Regions from separate parts of the Homo sapiens genome. Here all the other regions are linked to region 1. The links are contacts of gene promoters, found by promoter capture Hi-C in human tissues and cell types (Jung and others, 2019). All regions are on one chromosome and are shown on one strand. Each heading gives the region's core, a stretch centred on a gene start or on the middle of the fragment in contact. The rest is flanking DNA. Distances are from core to core; before and after follow the strand shown. Region 1 holds the start of LSM7 (LSM7 homolog, U6 small nuclear RNA and mRNA degradation associated). Region 2 holds the start of MKNK2 (MAPK interacting serine/threonine kinase 2). Region 3 overlaps GNG7 (G protein subunit gamma 7). Region 4 overlaps GNG7 (G protein subunit gamma 7).

What was found. Contacts are between HindIII fragments. The study calls those that stand out against the background at their distance.
Region 2: the fragment with the promoter of MKNK2 here is called in contact with the fragment with the promoter of LSM7 in region 1 in 1 of the 25 tissues and cell types used here (dorsolateral prefrontal cortex).
Region 3: a contact is called between a fragment that was not itself captured here and the fragment with the promoter of LSM7 in region 1, in 2 of the 25 tissues and cell types used here (dorsolateral prefrontal cortex and mesenchymal stem cells).
Region 4: a fragment that was not itself captured here is called in contact with the fragment with the promoter of LSM7 in region 1 in 1 of the 25 tissues and cell types used here (dorsolateral prefrontal cortex).

The regions. Positions count from the first base shown.
Region 1 is chr19:2,326,994-2,330,554 of GRCh38, reverse strand. It overlaps LSM7 (LSM7 homolog, U6 small nuclear RNA and mRNA degradation associated), which reads left to right and starts at 1,969. Exons shown (of 4, transcript NM_016199.3): 1 at 1,969-1,994; 2 at 2,078-2,168. The coding sequence starts at 1,989. SPPL2B (signal peptide peptidase like 2B) reads right to left here and starts at 1,871. Exons shown (of 15, transcript NM_152988.3): 1 at 1,780-1,871. The coding sequence starts at 1,845. RefSeq lists silencers at 1,585-1,844, 2,865-2,964 and enhancers at 2,055-2,104, 2,115-2,164, 1,600-2,254, 2,535-2,594. The HindIII fragment of the contact is 22,122 bases long and covers 1-3,561 here.
Region 2 is chr19:2,048,964-2,052,493 of GRCh38, reverse strand. It overlaps MKNK2 (MAPK interacting serine/threonine kinase 2), which reads left to right and starts at 1,250. Exons shown (of 14, transcript NM_199054.3): 1 at 1,250-1,398; 2 at 1,547-1,693. The coding sequence starts at 1,643. RefSeq lists silencers at 1,076-1,615, 2,346-2,535 and enhancers at 2,106-2,165, 2,342-2,998. The HindIII fragment of the contact is 30,775 bases long and covers 1-3,530 here.
Region 3 is chr19:2,687,277-2,690,995 of GRCh38, reverse strand. All of the region lies in intron 1 of GNG7 (G protein subunit gamma 7), which reads left to right. Among named protein-coding and RNA genes, the nearest start is that of GNG7, 14 kb to the left of the region's middle. The HindIII fragment of the contact is 8,454 bases long and covers 1-3,719 here.
Region 4 is chr19:2,643,977-2,647,318 of GRCh38, reverse strand. GNG7 (G protein subunit gamma 7) reads left to right here. Exons shown (of 5, transcript NM_052847.3): 2 at 1,039-1,095. Among named protein-coding and RNA genes, the nearest start is that of MIR7850, 15 kb to the right of the region's middle. The HindIII fragment of the contact is 9,525 bases long and covers 1-3,342 here.

The DNA of each region.
Region 1 (3,561 bases), core at 720-3,219:
CCACCCCTTGCCAACCCCAAATAACCTGCCAGCTCTCACACCTCCCAGCCCCCGCTTATGCTGCTTCTGGTGCTTCCAACACCCTTCCCCTCCTGCCGACCCGGCAAACTCCTACTCATCATTCAGAACACCTGCCTCGGGGCCGGGCACGGTGGCTCACGCCTGTCATCCCAGCACTTTGGGTGGCCGAAGCAGGTGGATCACCTGAGGTCTGAAGTTCGAGACCAGCCTGACCAACATGGTGAAACCTCGTCTCTACTAAAAAAAAAAAAAAAAAAATTTAGCCAGGAGTGGTGGCATGCACCTGTAATCCCAGCTATTCGGGAGGCTGAGGTGGGAGAATTGCTTGAACCGGGAGGCAGAGGTTGCAGTGAGCCTAGATCATGCCACTGCACTCCAGCCTGGGCGACAGAGCGAGACTCCGTCTCAAAAAAAAAAAATAGATCTGCTTCGGAAAAGCCTTCCCAGGCAAACTGAGTCCCTCTCTCCACAGAGTTCTGTGATCTTTCTTCCACCTCTGGCTTTCCCCCTCCTTCCAAATGTCTGGGGAGCTCTAGGTGCCTGGCTGCAGAATGGGGGGAGTCCAAAGGGGGCTGACAGAGCAGCTGGGGGTAGGACTGGGGTTCTCAGAAAGCTTCCGAGGGGGCCCGACAGCCTTGCAGAGACCAGGGGCATCTCAGGGTAAGAGAAAAGACTAGAGAGTGAAGCGACTGCAATGAGCTGCAGGCTTCCCCAGCAGCCAGGTCACAACTGGACGGCGCACTCATCTGGATGCGACACGGTCTGACATACTTTGAAAGGGTCACCCCTGCTGTGTCGAGGATGGACTGGGGATGTGGTGGACAAAGGCAGCCACAGCAGAGGGATAGCGGTGGGGCTGGAGGAGTGGAGACTGAGGAGCCAGGTGGCGGCGACGCCTTAAGAGTGAGAACTCTGAGGGGGTAGTGAAGGTTAAGGGCTGCATTTGTGGGGCTGCTCCAGGTTCCATTGCCTGAGCCACCGAACTCAGGAGAGAGGGAAGATTTGGAATTAAGAAAATAAAAGATGCAGTTATGACAGTGCGATCTCGTAGACTGTCCCCACTAGAACCTGACACTCTTTACATCAAATGACACACAATGAACATAATGAAGGCCTGTTGGCCCTGGGCGCTGGTCACCCTGGACAGAACCTCCAGAATCCACACCATAGTCGGTCCTCCTTCTGCACACGAATTCCATCGTCCAAGGTCACGGAGTAAAAGATGGAGCGGGGATCCGACCCCAGTGCAGGGCTGGACTCCTGGCCGCTCCAGGATGCTGCCAGTTACTGGGGGACGCGCGGGACGCCTCTGGGTTCCCCCACCGCACCCCCTAGGGTGAGGTTAGCTTAGCACCGTGCCCGTTCCGCCTAAGGGGAAACTGAGGCTCGGAGAGGGGTGGGCAGCCGCCTGCTCAAGGCCACAGAGCCGGAGAGAGGCGTCCCCGGCGGCAACTGGAGACCCCGAAACGGAGAAGCAGAACCGGAGGATGGAGGGGGCACAAATTTCAGACCCGGTGGGAAGTGAGTGGCGCTGCAGCGGCGGAGGGCCTCCGAGGCGGGGAAAGGAGAGGAGCCGGGGACAGACCCGCAAGGTCACGGCCGAGCCCCGGCACCGCCGGCCGACAACGCGGGGACGGCGGATCCCCGAGGCTGGACCCCCAAGACGGGCCGAGCGGGGTCGTTCCTGCGCGTAGCCCGGGGACAGAGAGGCCGAAGGGCCGCAGCCCGCGGTGCCGTCGGGACCGGTGCCGCGCTCACCTGGGCCGCGAGGAGCAGAAAGGCCGCCAAAAGCCGCGCCAGCGCAGCCGCCACCGCTGCCGCCATGTCGGCCGGTGCCCGCCGCAACCAACGGCAGATGTTTCCCAGCAACGCCCCGAGACCCCGGGCCACGCATGCGCCGCGCATGCGCGTGGGGGAGGTCAAAGGGCGCGGGGCGGTGCCTGCGAAGAGCCACACGGCGCGACAAGATGGCGGTGAGCGCGCGGCGGAATCTGGAGCCGGGGGGCGTGGAGCTCGGGCCGCGCTCCAGGTCTCATGCGCTCTGCTTTCCCCGCAGGATAAGGAGAAGAAGAAAAAGGAGAGCATCTTGGACTTGTCCAAGTACATCGACAAGACGATCCGGGTAAAGTTCCAGGGAGGCCGCGAAGGTGAGGAGGCTCCCGCTGTCGGTACCCCCTCTTTAAAAATTTCAAATAAACCCAGCAACAGAGATGATGAGGACGCATGCGGAAGCACCTCTTTTATTTATTTTCATTATTTTTTTTGAGACGCAGTCTCGCTCTGTCACCCGGGCTGGAGTGCAGTGGTGCGATCTCAGCTCACTGCAACCTCCGCCTCCCAGGTTCAAGTGATTCTTGTGCCTCAGCCTCCCGAGTAGCTGGAATTAATGTGTACCACCACGCCCGGCTAATATTTGTATTTTTAGTAGAGAGGCCATGTTGGCCAGGATGGTCTCAAACTCCTGGCCTCAAGCGATCTGCCTGCCTCAGCCCCCTAAATTGCTGGGATTTCAGGCATGAGCCACCATGCCCAGCCTAGCATTTTTGACTGGGCAAGTGAGCTGCCTTCTCCTAGCCTCCGTTTCCTCATTTGTCAAATGGGGCTGGTAACTCCACCCACTTCACAGGGGGTGGTGAGAATGAATGGTTACAGGCATGTAATGTAATTGAGGCAGCTCTCAGCAGGAAGTAAGCAGTCAGACAACACGTCACTTATTCAATAGCCTCTTGGATCTTTGGTTTCTTTTTTTTGTAAGACGGGGACCCAAACCTCTTTGTCCCTGGATTGTAGACAACTGGGTGGCATGAGAGTTATTAAAAATCACAGTGCCCCAGCCGGACGGGGCGGCTCACGTGTGTAATCCCAGCAATTTGGGAGTCTGAAGCAGGAGGGTGGCTTCACCCTAGGGTTTGAGGCTGCAGTGAGCTATGACCGCACCACTGCACTCCAGCCTGGGCCACAGAGCAAGGCCCAGTCTCAAAAGAGAAAAAGGAGGCCAGGCACAGTGGCTCATGCCTTTAATCTTGACACTTTGGGAGGCCGAGGCAGGCAGATCAGGAGGTCAGGAGATCAAGACCATCCTGGCCTACGTGGTGAAACCCTGTCTCTACTAAAATACAAAAAGTTAGCTGGGCATGGTGGCGCACGCTTGTAGTCCCAGCTACTCGGGGGGCTGAGGCAGGAGAATTGCTTGAACCCCAGAGGCGAGATTGTGCCACCGCACTCCAGCCTGGCGATAGGGCAAGACTCCGTCTCAAAACAAAAAGAAAAAGGAATATGAATAAAATGTTTTCTCAGTCTACACCATGCTGACTCCGGACATGGAAGGACATGAGTGAGCGGCCGCTCTTGCTGGTCACACTGCTTCCCTTTGTTTTCTGCCCTTCATAGCAAATCACCCATTTAGCAGCTGAAACAGCACCATTTTATTATCTCACAGGATCTGTGAGTCAGGAGCCAGGGTACCACAGCCTCAAGGGCTCTCAGGAGGTTGTAACTGAGGGTTGTTTTTTGGGGTCCATCATCTTGGGGTCTTCTTCT
Region 2 (3,530 bases), core at 1-2,500, 280 kb after region 1:
TGTTTGTGCGTGTATGTGTTCACACGCACACACACGCACCCACATGCACAATAAGGGGGGCTGGGGGACCTGGTTTTCTGTCCCCCCATTGCCAAGAGTCAGGGCAATGCCAGGTGCTGGGCTGGGTTCTGGCTGGGAATTCCCCACAGGCTTCCCCCCAATGCCCCGGGGGTGGCTGAGGCCAGGCCTCCCAGCCCCTGTGGCCTGAGAGCTGTGGCCTTGCAGGCAGGGGCCCTCCAGCTTCAGGTCAGTGGGGCTCCAGCCCCTCTTGAGCTCAGGGCCTGGTTGGGGGATGGTGGGATGGGCTGTGCGAAGCTTCTGGAAACCCCTGCAGAAGAGGAGACCACAGTCCACCCAGCAGGGGAACCCCCACTCCTTGTGTGCCCCAGGCCCGGGGCCTGGGGAGCACTTTGAACCAGGATGCTGTGGGATGGGGGACTGGCAGCTCAGGACAGGCTGATTCTATCTAAGCCTGGTTTGGGGCCCCAGCCAAAATGGGACTGTGTTTTACTTCCTGTCCTGGCGACCATCCACCCCTTGGGCTCTTTCCCAGTGGGTCTCAGGTCCCAGTTCTCCCTGAAATGCTATTCGAGGACAGAGGAAGGGTCCTTCACAGACCTCGGTCCCCACCCTCTACTCTGGTTCCTGCCAACCACAAAGCAAACTCGGGGAGCTCAGTGCTCCCCAGGCAGGGTGGCCCAGGGGAAGAAGAAAGTAGGTGGCGGTGGCTGGTCCCCCAGCACTAGAAGGGAGTGGCTGGGACTCCAAGCGTGCTGGTGGTGCACGAGGGGGACTGCTGGAGCCAGCACTGGAGAACTGCAAGAGGGAGCCATGGCAGGTTCTAGAGCGAGGGCATGAACCAAGGGAGTCGGGGTATACTAGGCCTGGGTTGACAGGCCAAGGGAGTTGCCCTGTGTGGGGCCAGGCGGTAGGACACGGCCCAGGGCCTCGCAGGTCCCACGGGCCCCGCGAGCCTCAGGCGGCAAAAACAGGCCAGCTCCGGGCGCGCCGCAGGGTCGCTGCCTAGGTTCCGCACCGAGACCCCCGTGCGCCGCACTGCGCAGGCGTGCGCTAGCCGTTTCGGACACGCCCCACCGCCGGAGCGCGCAGCCGCACTGGGTTCCCGGAGAGCGCCCTCTTCTGGCTCCGCCCACGTCGTGCGCAGGGGGTGAGGCCGGGCGGAGCCTGCGTCGGGGGCGGGGCCAGAGCAGGTCCGGGCCTATAAAGGTGGCGGCGGCGGCGACGCGCCCGGCTCCTCTCAGCGGCGGTGGCCCAGGTAGAGGGGTCCGCGCTGGCGGCGGCGGCGGCGCTGTTCCCCGCGCGGTCCGCGGAGCGGGGTCCGGGCTGCGCGACGTGGGGCGGCGGCGGCACTGCGGCCCCGGCCCAAGCCCGACCCCGGTGAGTGCGAACCCCAGGGCGGCCCCGAGGACACCGACCCGGTAGCGGGAAACGGGCCCCGCGGAGCCCTCGCCGCCCCCGCCCGGTCCGCGCTCCTGGCAGGCCGGGCTCCGCTCACCGCCCTCCCTTTGTCTGCTCCCGCCCGCAGGGTCCCCTCCTCGGCCGCCCCCCGCCCGGCCGCCCGCCCTCGGGCCTCCCCCCGGGCCCTCGGTCCCCTCCCCCGCTGGCGGGGCCCGGACAGAAGATGGTGCAGAAGAAACCAGCCGAACTTCAGGGTTTCCACCGTTCGTTCAAGGTGAGGCCCGGGGTCGGTTTGGGGGCGCTCCGGGCTGGACCACCGGAATGGCCGGCGTGGGGGGCGCGGGGCCCGCCCCTAAGATCGGCTCCCGGGGCTCGTGCCTGGCCCCCGCCCTACACCCGGGGCTGCCCGGGCCGGCCGTGCGCTGAAGCGGGGTCGGTGTGCGAGGATGGGGGTTCAGCAGGCCACAGTCCTCTCTCCAGCCATGGCCGCCGGGTCCTTCCTCCAGGACCCCCAAGTGAGGCTGGGAGCAGGAGCCCCCTCCGGGTCAGGGCACCAGGCTGTGTGTCCCCTGCAAGCCCCCGCCGGGTATGTTCTGGGGGGTCAGCAGGCTGCAGTCCTGTCCCAGTCGCTGCATGTGGCTTATGGGGGGTGTCCCCTGCAAGCTCCAGCTGGTTGTGCCCTGGTGGGGACGGGTCAGCGGGCCACAGTCCCATTCCCACCTCCATGTGGCTTCTGGGGACTTTCTTTCAGAATCCCCAGGCCGGGCTGGTCAGGTGCACCCACCCCCAGGGGGCCTGTGCCGTGGGGGAGGGGATGGGATGTCCCCTCAGCCCTGCACTTCGCAGACACCCCAGGCCCAAGTGCTGTTTCCTGTCGGAGCGGGAAGTTTCTGCGCAGCCCGGGTGGTGACTGCTGTTGAGTGCTGGTTTCAGATGAGCAAATCTTGGGGGGGAAGGGGAGGGCAGGTGCTGGGCAGGGGCCCCGCAGGACCTGGCCCAGGGGACGCAGTGATGTCAGCCGGCCCGCCCCACCCCTCAGGCCGGGGTTATGTAATCGCTTCACTGGGCTTCCTTGGGCAGGGACCTGTTGCCCGGTAGGGAAGGCAGGACTGGAGAGAGGAAGAGAGAGTGTGAGTGTATGTGTGTGTGTTTGTGTGTGTGTGTGTCTCTGTCTTGTGTGTACACACAACGCGGTGCTCCAGGGTGGGAGGAGCAAAGAGAGACTGGGAAGAATTCCCAGGTCTGTCCAGCCAGTGCCCCAGGGCAGCACTCCACCCCTGCCACCCCTGCCCAGTTTTCCCCTAGGGCAGCAGGCCTGGCACCATCAGAGTGTCAGGGGCTGGGCGGGAAAGAGGAGGACCTGACAGTGGTCTTCTCCCTCCTAGGGCCAGGCATGAGCTGATACAGAGTCAGTGCATGGGGCCAGCCAGGCAGCTAAAGCACACTTGAACTTTCTAGATGGTTCCAGCCACCTCCTGCCAAGGCCTGCTGACTCGAGTCCCACAGCCAGACCTAGAACAGTGGGACCAGGACCGCCCACACTGCCCAGGATTGTGGGCCGGCCTCTGTGCATGGCCAGGGCAGCCTGGCTGGGAGCTGGGAAGGTGGGCGTCTTGGTGGAGGAGGGCCTGGCAGGCAGTCCTGGCTGTGAGGTGTTCCTCCAGGTGGCCGGGACCGGTTGCTCTAGGAATCTCCCCCCACAGCCCCCACCATGCACGGCTGCTCCCTGGATTGGGGCCACCTCTCCTGAAATACTCTCCTTGCCTCCAGCAGGCAGCAGCCCAGCAGGGAGGCACGTCTGTGGGTGCCTTGGGTTTCTTTCCGTTCGCAGATGGGAAAGTGAGGCTCTGAGACTGCAGGCGCGTGTGCCTGGGGCTCCCCTGTACACGGGCGAGGAGGCCGCGGAGTCTCGTGGTGCCTGGCCCCTCCGCTGTGGTGGCTGCGGCCGTCCATCTGTAGCTTTGCTGAGTTGGAGGCTGTGGCTGGCACAGGGGAACGGTGGCCAGACAGGGCCAGGAGCTCACGCTGGGCTCTGTGGCCCCTTAGGTCATTTCACTCTCGTGAGCTCCCACGAGTTGGGGGCAGCTGCCTCCCGTCTCACCGCTGACAGA
Region 3 (3,719 bases), core at 973-3,472, 360 kb before region 1:
TCTCTATTGGAGTTTACTCTTGGTGTTGAAGATTCTACGGGTTTGGAGAAGGGTGTAAGGATACGTGTCCACCATTGTGGTATCCTATAGTTTCACTGCCCTGGCCGGGCGCGGTGGCTCGCACCTGTAATCCCAGCAGTTTGGGAGTCTGAGGTGGGTGGATAACTTGAGGTCAGAAGTTCGAGACCAGCCTGGCCAACATGGTGAAACCCCGTCTTTATTAACAATACAAAGCTTAGTTGGGCGTGGTGGTGCGTGCCTGTAACCCCAGATACTCAGGAGGCTGAGGTGGGAGTATTGCTTGAATCTGGGAGGTGGAGGCTGCAGTGAGCCAAGATTGTGCCACTGCACTCCAGCCTGGGCGACAGAGCAAGACCCTGTCTCAAGAAGAAAAAAAAAAAGACCTGAGCCAACAGGTTGAAATAGAAAAACTCACATGGATTTGTAATCAGAGAATCTTAGAAAGGCAGCTGAGGAAGGGGCTTGGAGCACGTCCAGTCCAGGAGTCAGTAACCACCGCCCTTGGGCCACCTCTGGCCCACAGCCTGGTTTTATATATGGCCCCTGGGCTAAGAATGATTATCCCATTTTTATTTTTATTTTATTTTATTTTTTGAGACAGAATCTCGTTCTGTCACCTAGGTTGGAGTGCAGTGGTGTGATCTCGGCTCACTGCAAACTCTGCCTCCCGGTTCAGGCCATTCTCCTGCCTCAGCCTCCCGGGTAGCTGGGATTACAAGCGCCTGACACCACACTCGGCTAATTTTTGTATTTTTAGTAGAGATGGGGTTTCACCATGTTGGCCAGGCTGGTCTCGAACTCCTGACCTCAAGTGATCCTTTCGCTTCGGCCTCCCAAAGTGCTGGGATTACAGACGTGAGCCACCGTGCCCGGCCTCCATTTTTAAATGGTTGGAAAAAAAAGTCAAAGGAAGCCCTGCTTCTACCCGCCGCCAAAAGAAGCAAAAAACAAAAGTCAAAGAAAAGGCCATGACACATGACAATTATATGGCATTCAGATTTTAGTGTCCAGAAATAATGTTTTATTGGCACACTGCTCTGTGTATTCTGCTACCATGGTGTAGTTAAGTCGTTGCCGTAGAGAGTGGCTCCACCGCAAGGCTGAAAACACTGGGTATCTGGACTCTTACCGAAAAAGCGTGTTGGCCCTCGAGTCCATCTCGCACGCTTTATGCATGGGAAAACTGAGGTCTGGAGGTTTCACGAGTTAGTGGTCATGCTGGGACTTGATCTTGGAACTTTGTACTTTAGCATTTGTCATGTCATTTCAGCCTCTGTGTTGTCAGAGCTCTAACAGTTAACTTCAGAGAATTGCATCGAATATGGTTTTTTTTTTTTTTTTTTTTTTTTTTTGAGTTGGAGTCTCACTCTGTAGCCCAGGCTGGAGTGCAATGGCGCCATCTCAGCTCACTGCAGCCTCCGCCTCCCAGGTTCAAGTGATCCTCCTGCCTTAGCCTCCTGAGTAGCTGGGATTACAGGCGTCCACCACCACACCCGGCTATTTTTTGTATTTTTAGTAGAGACGGGGTTTCACCATGATGGCCAGGCTGGTCTCGAACTTCTGACCTCAGGTGATCCACCCGCCTTGGCCTCCCAAAGTGCTGGGAGGCCCACCGAGCCCGGCCCAAATGTGGTCTTGTTAGGAGCGTTTATTCCTGTAGCCTCCATAATGAGAAGGGCTTAATGATTTGGGAACAATTTTATATAATTATTTTTTTTCCCCTATAACACGGTGCCATGCATAGTATGATTGGCATTTTTTTCCCCCTTTTTTTTTGCATTATTTTTATTTTTGTTTATTTTTTTCTTATTTATTTATTTATTGTATGTATTTATTATGTTGGGGCAAACATAATTGTGGTCTTTGCCATTAAAAGTAATATTTTTTAAATTTACATTTACATTTTTTTTTGAGACAGAGTCTTACTCTGTCGCCCAGGCTAAGTGCAGTGGAGTGATCATGGCTCACTGTAGCCTCCAACTCCTGGGCTCAAGCGATCCTCCCACCTCAGCCTCCTGAGTAGCTGGGACCACAGGCACGCAACCCCGTGCCTGGCTAATTTTTGTTTTATTGTAGAGATGAGGTCTCGCTATTTTGCCTAGGCTGGTCTCGAACTCCTGAACACAAGTGATCCTGCCACCCCGGACTCCCAAAGTGTTAGGAGGACAGACGGGAGCCACTGTGCCCGGCTAACAATGGGTTCATTTCTCTCAACTCCACACTTTATTCAAATGTCATTAATCTTCCCCTAATGTCCTTTCCTGCCCCAGGACCCATCTAGAATCCCACGTGACATTTAGCCGGCTCGTCTCCGGGGGTTCTTCCAGGTTGGGACCATGTCTTAGATGTTCGTTACCTCTCGTGACCTGGACGGTCTTAGGGGGACCGGCTGGGTATTGTGCAGACTTACTTCTGATCTAGGTTTGTCAGATATTTCTCTCGTGATCAGACCGGGGTTACGGGTTTCGGGAAAGAACACGTAGGGGTGAGGTGCCCTGTTGCTCTCTCCCTGCTGGGGATCCTTGAGACCCTGGTGACTTCCTACTGGTGCTGTTAACCTGGTTCTCCCAGCCCAGGTGGCCTTAGCCCACCTACCAGCTACTCTGAGGTCATTCTTGCTGAGGGAACTCCCCACTTCCCCAGAGCACTGACACCGACTCCATCCTTCGTACGGCAAACTTTGCTTTTCATCTTTGCATCATGATTTCTTTTTTCTTTTGTTGAGACGGAGTCTCGCTCTGTCGCCCAGGCTGGAGTGCAGTGGCGCGATCTTGGCTCACTGCAAGCTCCACCTCCTGGGTTTACACCATTCTCCTGCCTCAGCCTCCCGAGTAACTGGGACTACAGGCACCCGCCACCATGCCCGGCTAATTTTTTGTTATTTTTAGTAGGGACGGGGTTTCACCGTGTTAGCCAGGATAGTCTCGATCTCCTGACCTTGTGATCTGCCCAGCTCGGCCTCCCAAAGTGCTGGGATTACAGGCGTGAGCCACCGCGCCCGGCTATTTTATCTGGAGGCAGAGTTTTGTTCTTGTTGCCCAGGTTGGAGTACAGTGGCACGATCTCAGCTCACTCAGGTTCAACTGATTCTCCTGCCTCAGCCTCCCAAATAGTTGGGATTACAGGTGCGTGCCACCTTGCCCGGCTAATTTTTTGTATTTTTAGTAGAGATGGGGTTTCGCCGTGTTGGCCAGGCTGGTCTCGAACTCCTGACCATGTGATCTGCCTGCCTCGGCCTCCCAAAGTGCTGGAATTACAGGCGTGAGCCACCGCGCCCGGCATCATGATTTAAACTTCTTGGCCAGGCTGGTGGCTTACTCCTGTCATGCCAGCACTTTTTTTTGTTTGTTTGTTTTTTGAGATGGAGTTTCACTCTTGTTGCCCAGGCTGGAGTGCAATGGTGCGATCTCGGCTCACCGCAACCTCTGCCTCCCGGGCTCAAGCGATTCTCCTACCTCAACCTCCCAACTAGCTGGGATTACAGGCATGGGCCACCATGCCTGGCTAATTTTGTATTTTTAGTAGAGGCAGGGTTTCTCCATGTTGGCCAGGCTGGTCTCGAACTCCTGACCTCAGGTGATCCACCCGCCTCGGCCTCCCAAAGTGCTGGCATTACAGGTGTGAGCCACCATGCCCAGCCTAACCCCAGCACTTTGGGAGGCCAAGATGAGAGGATTGCTTGAGCCCAGGAGCTTGAG
Region 4 (3,342 bases), core at 175-2,674, 320 kb before region 1:
GAGCTGGGACAACAGCCCAAAGCACTGTCACCAGCGAGGCTCCCAGAGACCCAGCACCCACGTTCCTATGGGGGCTGGTTCTGCTGCCCCTGCTGCCTGACCCATGCCAGGATTCCAGGCTCCAGAGGGAGGCAAGGATTTCATATAAACCACGGTGTTTGCAGGAACAGCTTTGGCCCTGGAGCTTGTCCTGTCAGTGATGGTGGCAGGGTCCCCCCGAGTCCCCCGAGGTGGGGAGTTCCTGGTCGCAGCCTCAGGCATGTGGTGCCAGCCTGGTTCTGCTCAGAGACTGCCCGTACCAGCTGAGCTGGGGCTGAGGGACTTCCCAGGATGCAGGACTTTCAGGCTAACTCTGGAAAAGTCCTGGGCAGACCTGGATACGTTGGGTGCCTTCTGGGCACCGTGGGACTAACTCAGCCCCTTCTTCTTCCTCCCAGGGAGATCGTGAGGCTCCAAAGATGTACAGAGATGTTTTTGATAAACTGTGAAGAGCCGTAGAAACATCAATCCTTGCACTCAGTTCAGTTTTCAAACACGTGGAAAATGTATTAGGAATAACGTCATAAATCTCTAATAATAAATATTTTCAGTGAATTGTCTTCTGCTTTTTTCCTTTTCTATTATTTTTTTTTTTGAAGCAGAGTCTTGCCCTGTTGCCCAGGCTGGAGGACAGTGGCTCGATCTCAGCTCACTGCACCCTCTGCCTCCCGGGTTCAAGGGATTCTCCTGCCTCAGCCTCCTAAGTAGCTGGGACTACAGGCACCCACCACCACGTTGGCTAATTTTTATATTTTTAGTAGAGACGGGATTTTGCCATGTTGGCCAGGCTGGTCTCGAACTTCTGACCTCATGATCCACCTGCCTTGGCCTCCCAAAGTGCTGGGATTACAGGCCTAAGCCACCGCGCCTGGTTGCCAAAATGATTTCTGTCCTTGTCCAATCACAAGCGCGAGGCCGTTCTCCAATGCTGACCCCATCAACACATGCATGGTGCCTCCAGCCAAGCCACGCCAAACTAACTCTATGTGTTTTTTCCAGGGAGTGGAGCTTGGTTTCGGGATCTCGGTGCTGCAGACGGCGAGACCTCCTGCACAGGTCGGTGCTGTAATGCATTTCTTTGTTATGATTTGAGGTTCAGTTGGCTGTTTTGCACCCTGGATGTAAGACGTGGGGTTGCCGTCAAGGCGGGCGTCTTGGCCTTGACCTGGGTCTGTCGGCTGTTTGTATCCACCAAGTATGGGTAATGGGGAGCAGGTGTGGGTAACAGCTGCTAGCTCCTGGCAGAGTTTCCCGCCCACGAGGCAGGGAACGTGGCACTCACTGGTCCTGCTGGTGCCGGAGCCCCTGGATGGGGTCAGGGTGGGAAGCCCACAGCGGTGCTGCATGCCTTTCCGGTGTCTTCGTGCCATGGTAGGGAGTTTTAAGGAGCCTTCACCCGTATCTCCTGTGCACCTGGAGAGTGACCCGTCGCTGGCCCTTTAGCTCTCCTCTGTTGATTTACTCCTCGTTTTTCTCCCTAGAGAATCATGAGTGGCTTTTAAAATGTAGGAAGAGGAAACCATTTAAAAATAAGTAGAAAGGAAGGCAGAAATGTCCAGAAAAGGCAAAGCCATAGGGACAGAAAGGGACTCGTGGTGATTGGAGGCTGGGGACATGAATGTGCACCAGAGACTTGCCAGGGACGTGGAAATGGACCCGATGGTCGGGTCGGGGTGACCGCAACCTGGTGAACTTACTTAAAAATCTTAAAACAAAATTTTTTTTTAAGAGTTAGGGTTTTGGCCAGGCATGGTGGCTCATGCCTGTAATCCCAGCACTTTGGGAGGCCGAGATGGGTGGATCACCTGAGGTCAGGAGTTCCAGACCAGCCTGACCAACATGGTGAAACCCCATCTCTACTAAAAATAGGAAAATCAGCCAGGCGTGGTGGCAGGTGCCTAGAGTCCAAGCTACTCGGGAGGCTGAGGTGCGAGAATCACTTGAGCCTGGGAGATGGTGGTTGCAGTGAGCCAAGATCATGCCACTGCGCTCCAGCCTGGGTGACAGAGCGAAACTCCTTCTAAAAAAAAAAAAAAGAGAGAGAGAGAGAGAAAAGAAAGAAAGAAAGAAAAACAGAAAAGAGTTAGGGTTTGCTTTGTTGCCCAGGCTGGTCTTGAACTCCGTGGCTCAAGTGATCTTCCTGCTTTGACTTCCCAAAGTGCCAGGATTACAGGTGCGTACCATTGCACCCGGCCCTGAAGTATCTTTGAGCAGTACACTTCACTTGAATTTTATGGCATGTAATGTGTACCTTAAAAATGCATATTTTAGCTAAGCCCAGTATAAATCATTTTGGTCTCATCCTTAGTAGTCAATGGTCATGAGAGGTAATTCAGAAACAGATGTACTCAAAAGTCAAGAATATGTTCAAATTTAGCAATAAGGCAAAGACTCCAAATGTCCATCAATGGGTGAATGGATCAGCAGAACATCCTCCATCCACACCATGGAGTGTTACTCAGCCATGAAAAGGAATGAAGCTTTGACACAGGCCACAGTGTGGATGTACCTTGAGGACGTCACGCTCAGTAAGAGATGCCAGACACAAAAGGCCACACAGCATGTGATCCCCTTTCTACAAAAGGTTCAGGACGGGCCGATCCACAGAGGCAGGGAGGGGATGCGTGGGTGCCGAGACTGGGAGGGGCATGGGAAGTGATGGTTGATGGGTTTCTTCTTCTTGGCATAATTAGAATGTTCTGGAATTAGTGGTGATGGTTGCAGGACTCTGAATGTACTAAATGCCATTGAATTGTGCGTTTTCTTTTTATTTTATGATTTTTTTCTTCTTTTTGGTGCCGCAGATAATACTCAGAAAGAATTATGCATTTTAAATGGGTGCACTGTATGTCATATGAATTACATCTCAATAACATGATGCATGTATAGATAGAGCATTATATATATATATATATATATATATATATATATATATATATATATATATATATAAAGTGTAGGCCGGGTGCAGTGGCTCACACCTGTAATCCCAGCACTTTGGGAGGCCAAGGCAGGTGGATCACCTGAGGTCAGGAGTTTGAGACTAGCCTGGCCAACATGGCGAAACCCCGTTTCTACTAAAAATACAAAAATTAGCCAGGTGTGGTGTTAGGCACCTGTAATCCCAGCTACTTGGGGGGCTGAGGTGGGAGGATTGCTTGAACGCGGGAGACGGAGGTTGCAGTGAGCTGAGATTGCGCCACTGCACTCCAGCCTGGGCGACAGAGCGAGACTCCATCTCAGAAATAATAAAATAAAATAAAGTGTAGATGCAAAAAGTGTAGATATAAAATATATGTATAA